Regions from separate parts of the Homo sapiens genome. Here all the other regions are linked to region 2. Evidence: promoter capture Hi-C in human tissues and cell types (Jung and others, 2019). All regions are on one chromosome and are shown on one strand. Each heading gives the region's core, a stretch centred on a gene start or on the middle of the fragment in contact. The rest is flanking DNA. Distances are from core to core; before and after follow the strand shown. Region 1 overlaps CCDC30 (coiled-coil domain containing 30). Region 2 holds the start of CLDN19 (claudin 19). Region 3 holds the start of LOC124904162 (a long non-coding RNA gene).

What was found. Contacts are between HindIII fragments. The study calls those that stand out against the background at their distance.
Region 1: a fragment that was not itself captured here is called in contact with the fragment with the promoter of CLDN19 in region 2 in 3 of the 25 tissues and cell types used here (mesendoderm cells, pancreas and spleen).
Region 3: a fragment that was not itself captured here is called in contact with the fragment with the promoter of CLDN19 in region 2 in 12 of the 25 tissues and cell types used here (H1 embryonic stem cells, IMR-90 fibroblasts, adrenal gland and 9 more).

The regions. Positions count from the first base shown.
Region 1 is chr1:42,638,942-42,641,672 of GRCh38, forward strand. The region is part of intron 16 of CCDC30 (coiled-coil domain containing 30); the gene reads left to right. All of the region lies in intron 1 of LOC124904162 (a long non-coding RNA gene), which reads right to left. Among named protein-coding and RNA genes, the nearest start is that of PPIH, 18 kb to the right of the region's middle. The HindIII fragment of the contact is 8,684 bases long and covers 1-2,731 here.
Region 2 is chr1:42,738,841-42,741,540 of GRCh38, forward strand. It overlaps CLDN19 (claudin 19), which reads right to left and starts at 1,396. Exons shown (of 5, transcript NM_148960.3): 1 at 1,001-1,396. The coding sequence starts at 1,223. The HindIII fragment of the contact is 9,679 bases long and covers 1-2,700 here.
Region 3 is chr1:42,673,195-42,675,894 of GRCh38, forward strand. The region is part of intron 9 of PPIH (peptidylprolyl isomerase H); the gene reads left to right. It overlaps LOC124904162 (a long non-coding RNA gene), which reads right to left and starts at 2,601. Exons shown (of 2, transcript XR_007066034.1): 1 at 2,526-2,601. The HindIII fragment of the contact is 8,469 bases long and covers 1-2,700 here.

The DNA of each region.
Region 1 (2,731 bases), core at 47-2,546, 100 kb before region 2:
CATGGGTCCATCAGACATATCATCAGCCTATTTCTATATTATCAGTTCTTTTTCATACTTTTGCATTTTGCTTCTAGGCCAGAAAAACAGTCTTCTGCTTTCAACAGGCATGCTAGCTTTCTTCCTGACTACACTGGGTTGAATAGCGTCCCTCAAATTCATGTCCTAGAACCTTAGAATGTGACCTTATATAGAAATAGGGTCTTTGCAGATACAATTAGTTAAGTGAGATTATCCTGGATTAGGGTGAATCATAAATCTAAGATGATTGCTGTCCTTATAGGAAGAGGGGAAAACACACAGACAGACACAGACAGGGGAAGAATGCCTCATGATGATGAATTCAGAGACTGGAATGATACAGCTACAAGCCAAGAAATAGCAAGGGTTGCTGGCAACCACCAGAAGCTAGGAGAAAGGCATGCAACACAATCTCTCCTGGAGCCCCCATGAGTAATTAACCCTGACAACAATGTGATTTCAGATTTCTGTCACTCAAAACTATGAGAAAATGTTATGGCAGCCCTAGGAAACTAATGCACCTACCCAAAGAACCACAGGTCTTCATAAAATGTGCTGGAGCTCCCAAATAAGCAGAGGCTGAGAGAATAATTGGATCTTTTGCTCACTGCCATTGAAGGGTACTGTGGGCTTTGGCCTTAAATAGACTTGGATTCAAATTCTAGCCCTGCCTGTAAGCTTGGACAAGTCTCTGTGTATCACTTTCCTCATCTGTAAAATGAGGGAAATAATCCCTACCTTACATACACAAGGCTTTTGTGAGTATTAAAACATACAATTTCTAAAGTGGTACTTGGTACATACACATTTTTCATAGATGTTATTTTCCTTTTTTTGGTATATAATCTCTTAGAAGGGCCAGGTGTGGTGGCTCATCCCTGTAATCCCAGCTACTTGGGAGGCTGAGGCAGGAGAATTGCTTGAACCAGGGAGATAGAAGTTGCAGTGAGCCAAGATTGCACCATTGCACTCCAGCTTAGGTGAAAAGAGTGAAACTTCGTCTCAAAAAAAAAAAAAAAAAATCTTAGAAGAATGTTAATTGGTGGATTCATTGTTCACATGAGAAATTGTTGACAGAATTAGAACGACTTAGCCTAGAGAAGACTGATGTTAGAGCTTTTAATGCCACAGTGGTACAAACCTAGGAATTCTTATTTTATGTATATTTTAGGGCCCAAGGACCAGAGCACTGAGCATAAAAATGCCAGATTTCTTTCTAAGTCTCCAAAAAGTAATGCCACTTCTTTTGGCTTCATTCCTTCAGCTTTTTCTTTATATAATGAGTCAATTGAGACTTCTGTTGTGACCACTCAAACCAGACTTTCCCATTTTATCCTATTATCACAGCATGTGTCTGGAATTTTTGTTTGTTTTAAAAAATACAGTATTTCCCAAGGACAAGGTGTCAGTCACCTTCCTCATGCAGTACACTTTTTAATCCAGTTAGAGCTGTCTAGGGTTTATCTGTGGGATGATTGCTTCTATTCTCAATCCTTACCAATACATTATTAATTAAATGTCTTTAAATTATAGCAGGTCAGACTACCATTAGATATTGCCGGGTCCCTGAGATGGACTTTAAAATCTGGAATAGCTTTTTCGGAACATAATCTAATCAACATCCTACAGGTCTTTAATAATAGATGGATGGCCAGGCATGGTGGCTCATGCCTGTAATTCTAGCACTTTGGGAGGCCGAGGTGGGTGCATCATCTGAGGTCAGGAGTTTGAGACCAGCCTGACCAACATGGCAAAACCCCATTTCTACTAAAAGTACAAAAATTAGCTGGGTGCGGTGGTGGGCACCTATAATGTCAGCTACTCAGGAGGCTGAGGCAGGAGAATTGCTTGAACCCAGCGGGCAGAGGTTGCAGTGAGCCGAGATTGCACCACTGCACTCCAGCCTGGGTGAAAGACAAAACTTTATCTAAAAAAAAAATTAATAATAATAATAGATGGCCAGTCTTTTCTGAATGACCTACATTAGTATCTTATTTAAAAGAAACATGTAGGTTGGGCACAGTGTCTCATGCCTGTAATCCCAGTCCTTTGGGAGGCTGAAGCAGGAGGATAGTTCGAGGCCAGGAGTTTGAGACCAGCCTGAGCAACAGAGCAAGACCCTGTTTCTACTATTTTATTTTATTTTTTATCTTAAAAAAATTTTTTTGAGACAGAGTCTCATTCTGTCACCCAGGCTAGAGTGCAGTGGTGTGATCCTAGCTCATTGCAGCCTTGAACTCCACACATGGCTTTTGTGTGTGTGTGTGTGTGTGTGTGTGTGTGTGTGTGTGTGTGTGTGGAGACGGGGTCTCACCATGTTGACCAGGCTGGTCTCAAACTCCTGGGCTCAAGCAATCCTCCCACTTTGGCCTCCCAGAGTGCTGAGATTACAGGTGTGAGCCATGGCACCAGGCATCTGACTCTACAAAAAATTTAAAAATTAGCCAGCTGTGGTGGTTCATGCCTGTAGTCCTAGCTACTCAGGAGGCTGAGGCACATGATCACTTGAGCCCAGGAGTGTGAGGTTACAGTGAGCCATGATTGTACCACTGCACCCCAGTCTGGATGACAGAGCTAGATCCTGTCTAAAAAAACAAAAAAACAAAAAAAAACAAAAAAAACAGCTGGACGCAGTGCCTCACGCTTGTAATCCCAAACCTTTGGGAGGCCTAGGCGGGCAGATCACTTGTGATCAGGAGTTTGAGATCAG
Region 2 (2,700 bases), core at 146-2,645:
CACTCTGCTGTTGCTTTCTGGCCTGGGGACTCCCTCTTGGGCTTGGCCCATCCTCCCAAGCAGCTGAGGGCAGCTCCAGGGTCCCCTCAGGTTTGGTAGGTGGAAGAGCTGGGGGTATCTGAGGCCCAGCTCAACTCAGCCTGAGCCCCGCAGCAACCCCTCCCCAGCAGCCATTCAGACAACAGTCACTTTCCCCTCTGCCCATGGCAGCTGGAAGCTTGCCTCTTCACGGGTGCATGGGTCCATCCTGGGCCCTGGGGGGTGCTCAGGAGACCTGGGTCCCTCAGCGAGGCTAGATGACCTGCCTGAACTGACCTGCCTGAACTGGCACAATGGGGCTGGTTGAAGGCCGCTCTGCTCCCAGCTCCCATGGGGAGCAGATTGTCCCTGGGGGCTCCTGGGCAGATTGCAGGTGGATCACCTCCACCCCAGAGTTAGAACTTCGGCGGTGCCTGTCAGGCTCATCTCCACACCCCAGAAGGAGAGGGACTGCATGCAGACACACCTGTCTGTGCATGCATGTGCACGTGTGTGCGTGTGCATGCGTGTTTGCATGCATGTGCATGCACCCATATGCTGGCACACAGGCCTGGGAGCAGGACTAGGGAGCAGGTGTGCATCATACAGTGTGTGTCTGTCTACTGACTGTGGGGAGAAGTGGATGAAGGGTCTTAACTGAGTCTTTCAGAGTGCCACAGGTATTAGTATTCCCCTTTAGAGATGAGAACATCACAATGGGAAGAGGTTTGGTGACTAGTTCAAAGTTATAGTGACAGAGCAGGAATCTGGACCCACAGCCGCCAGACCCTAGAGCCCTCCCCTCCCACAGGGCAGCAGGCTGGCCTGGACCGTCAATGGGCACAGGGCAGTAGTGGGGGAATTGTAGAGCGGAGGCTGGAGGTTGGAGCCCAGCGCAGATAGCAGACTGTGAGGAAAACTTGCTCCAGACTCCCCTGCTGTTCCCACCTCCCATCTCCCACCCCGCCGGCCTGGGGCCTACCGTCCAGGGCGAGCAGCGAGTCGTAGAGCTTGCACTGCACTTGCCCAGTGCTCTGGGAGGCGCAGGACATCCAGAGCCCTTCATAGAGGCCCACGGCAGTGATGATGGCGTCGCCTGCGTAGGAAGACTGCTTCCACTGTGGCAGGGCTGTGCTAGCAATGATGCCCACCCAGCCACCCAGGGCCAAGAAGTAGCCCAGGAGCTGGAGGCCTGAGTTGGCCATGGCCCAGGAGAGAGGACCGAGGGTCCCAGGACTCAGAGCTGGGCCAGGGTGCCAGCAGGGGCTTTGGTCATGGCCAGGTGGGAGGAGCAGCTGGGCAGGGGGAGCAGCGAGAAGGAGGGTCAGAGGCAGAGAAGGAGAGGTGGTGCGGCGGCAGCGGCTGGAGCAAAGGCAGTGGCTCTGGACTCCAGAATGCAGGGGGAGGCCCAGGGGCTGGAAAAGGCCAGGGCCCGCCCACAGCAGCCGCCTAAGCCAGAGCAGGGTCCCCAGCAAAGCTCATGCCCAGCCCCCTGGGGGCGGAGGGCCGGCCCATGGCCCAGGTGGTGTCCCTGCCCCGCCCCGTTCCGCAGGGATAGGGAAGGGAGGGGCTGAGAGGAATGACCCAGCTGCCCTCTGGGCCTTTCCCCACAGGGAAACCCCTTTAGGAACCTGATTCGGGTGTCCTAAAATTCGGATAATCCCTAACCCAAACACCAGCCCTGGGAGGATGGACTTTGCTCTTGCAAGGCTGATCTAACCCTTGGGGTTTTCTGCCCTTTGACTTTAGGACAGAAGGGAAAGGAATGCCAGTTTGCAGCGGGTAAAACTAGAGTTAGATGTCAAGGATAACTTTTTGGCAGGGGCTCTGAAGCTGGATGTGGGGAGGCTGAGCTAGCGGTGGGGTGTTGGGAAGAGGGGTCATGGGTACCTGGGAGCTGTGTGTGCCAAAAATCAGGGAGGCCAGACCAGGAAATATGTACTGTGGGGTCTTTTTGAGATCTGAGGGGGACAGAAAAGGGGCCCTATCGAGGCTGGGCCAGCGCTGGCTGCCGGCCAGCAAGGGGCCTGGTGGGGAGCTGGGGAGACAGCCCCAACCTTCTGGCATCAGCCTGAAGGAAGGCGGATTGCTCAGCCCCTTAATCCCCTTGCTGGCTGGCTTAGTAGCTCCTGCTGGGACTGGAACACTGGGCCCTGGCCCCCAACTCTAGAGCAGCCTGGCGCGGAGCAGTGGCCTCTGCACATTCCCGGGGTTCAGGCTGCCCGCTCCGAGCACCCCCACCTCCCTCTTCTCTCTCCCAGTCTCTCTTGGTCTTCAGGAGTAGGGGAATGTTTAACTCTCTTCCACCTCATTAGCAATCCCCTCACGTTCAAGTGGGCCCCACTGCAGCGTGGGTGCAGAAGGAATGTCACAACCCTGCTTCCACTCCTGCCAGCCCCCCGCCGCCCCCTCCGTCCCCAACAGCCCACCCACCCTTCCTGGACTGCACTGGGGGAAGGCAGGGTCCTGCTGCAGACCCCTGCTGGCTTCCTCCCCCACAGCCCCAACCCCCCTCTGAAGGGACAAGTCCCCAGCCCGCTCTTGCATTCTTCACGTGGCTATGCAAACGAGAGGGTGCCAGGCGCTGAGCAGACAATGGCAGCCCTGTGTGCCCGCCCAGGGCGTAGGCCTCTGGTATGGCCTGCAGCTCTGGCCAGAGATGGGGGAGTGGTCTGCCATCTG
Region 3 (2,700 bases), core at 194-2,693, 66 kb before region 2:
GGCCGGTCTCAAACTCCTGGCTTCAAGCGATCTTCCCACCTCAGCCTCCCAAAGTGCTGGAATTACAGGCATGAACCACCGTGCCCAGCCCTTGGAAAACTTTTTATGATGAATTTGGTTATGTATAGCATAAATGAACCTCTACACTCAGGATTCTCCTGCTGTAGTCTGAATGGGTTGTTTGCTACTTACATGGACATGGGAGAGGGTGGCACCTCTCTTTTGAAAGCCCGAGTTCTGGCAGCTCTGCTAGTCTGATATGCTTACCCTCTTCCCTGTGATCCTCAAACCTGGTACCAGTACCAAATGGTAGAGAGCTTTCCTTAATTCATTGTTGCCTAGATTCTCCAACAGGTAATAATCATTTTGGGGCACTCGTTAAACCTACGAATTCCTAGATCCCTTCCCTGGAGTATTTGATTGAGTGGCTTTGGGGTGGGACCAGGATGTTATGTTTGTAACAAGTATCTCACATGCTTCTTAATAGAGAAGTGTGGGAAACACTACTTTAGTTAGTGGTGGGATGACTGTCTTTTATTTTAATATTTGGATCTTAGGAAAAAATACGGAATTAGCACAATACATCATTTTACAGTTATTACAGCTTATAGTGAGGCAATATTGAAGTTCAAATAGTGATTAGCTTAAAAAATAAATTGTACCTGTGGATGATAGATATTGTAACAGTTGTGAAGATGCTATTTGAATGACTAAGGTTTAGGAAACACTGTGTTTCATTCTAGAATTACCTATAGATGCGAGACATTCCCGTAGGGGAAGATTAGGAAATATGTGTTGGTGGCAGTTGGGCTGGTCCTCTATTCATTCCACAACTAAGCGCTGATGAATTAAGATAGTTCCCATGCTGCATATGAGGCTACAGATTTGAAAAGTCAGTTCCATCCTTCAAGGAACTCAGTCTCTTGGGAGAACTGACAATTACAGTACAATAAAGCCCTGTATTGGAGGTTTTAGAACAAGGTGAGGAAAGCATAAATGCCCGGATCTTCCCAGAGTGGTTGAGTAGACTACAGAAGAGATGATGCTTCAGTTTAGTACAAGAAAGAATATAACTTGTCAGGTGGCTAAAACTGGGCAGGGCATTCCAGGCAGAGGGAACAGCCTATGCAAAGTCACAAAGGCAGGAAACAGCAGGAAGTGTAGAGGAAGCTGCAAATAATTCAATATGACTGAAGCAGGAAGATATGAAAAGCAAATGGTGAGAAGGTTGGAGAGAGGCCAGGGCCAGTAGTGAAAGCCAGTGCCAAGTTTAGCAGTTCATATGTTATTCTGAGGGCAGAGGCTGACTTTCAGGCATGAAGTAATTTTTCCCTTTTGGGGAAGGAGTCCACTGTGCTCCTGAGATTCTCAAAAGGGGCACTGACCCTCCAAAAAAGAATCAGGCCAATATGAACCACTTAAGGATTTTCAGCAGAATACTGTAGATGAATTTTCATGTTCAGAAGATGATTCTAGCAGCATTGTGGAGGATGGGCTGGAGGCCAGTGAGGAGTCTACTGCAGTAGTAGTCCAGGCAAGAGAAAAGAGGTTTTACATGAAAATATGGGTCTGGGGAACACTGGAGATTTGGCAGCAAATATTTATGTGCCTGCTGGGCATGTGACACTGTATGTTCCCTGTCCTGAAACTCAGAAGCTCTGCCAGCTGAAAAGGCCAGGAGTGGAGAGAATGTCTGGCTCCAGTCCATTCCAGTCCAGTACAAAGGCAAAGCTGCTTGCATTGCAGCCAAGTCTTACACACGTAGAGGTTCCATTCTCTTCAGTGGAATACTATACAGCCTTAACAAAATAAAGAGGTAGATCTGGATGTGTTGGCAAGATTTCTAAGGTAAGTTAAGTGACAGTCAAGATGTAGTAATTTATGTAAGCATGTTACTGTTTATTTTGAATGACTTTCAGGAATCTCTGCAGTGATATATAGCAGACTGTGGATAATACTTCTGCAGAGTAGAGATAGCAAAGAGACTTTTCAGTTGCCTTATTTAAGCTTGAATTTTCTACCTTGAACATGTATCTTGTAATAGAAATACATACTGTTTATATGTAGTGTTAACTAATCCTAAATCCTCCCAGCACTTCCCAGGAGCCTGCCCACAGCTGTGGCTAACATCAGGTGTGAATCCATTGCTGATCCCTCCACCTCCTCTTCCAGGTCTAAGCCCAGACAGTGGGTGCTCCCACAGCACTTGGTTCATCTCTCCACTGTGGCATTTAATATACTGTATCACAAATATGTAAGTCTGTTTTTCTCTGGACTGAGAACTTGTTGAAGCAAGGATCATGCTGACTAACATAGTGCCTGGTATGACAGAGCTTAGGTCCTGGCACACCATGCAGCTTACAAAGTACATTTATACATTTTCATACACTTTGCTTGAGGGCCCACAGTTAAACTTCAGTCTGTGCCTGCAGTACGATGCCAGTACCCATTGTCCACTGGAGCAAGGTGTGGCATGTTTGAGGAATGGCAAGAGGAGGGGGACAATAGTATCTGGGTGTACTTACTCTGTTCTCTTAGTATAGCTTGCTCGACTTCAAGGCCATAAACCCAGAGTGTGGACTTCCCTTTCTCTTTACCTCTGGGACCGAAACCTGCAAGGAAGAAGGATTGCTTTTTGTTCTGGACCTCCACAGAGAGCCATCAGAGTCTGACAAAAAGGACAAAGGCTTTGGAGCCAAG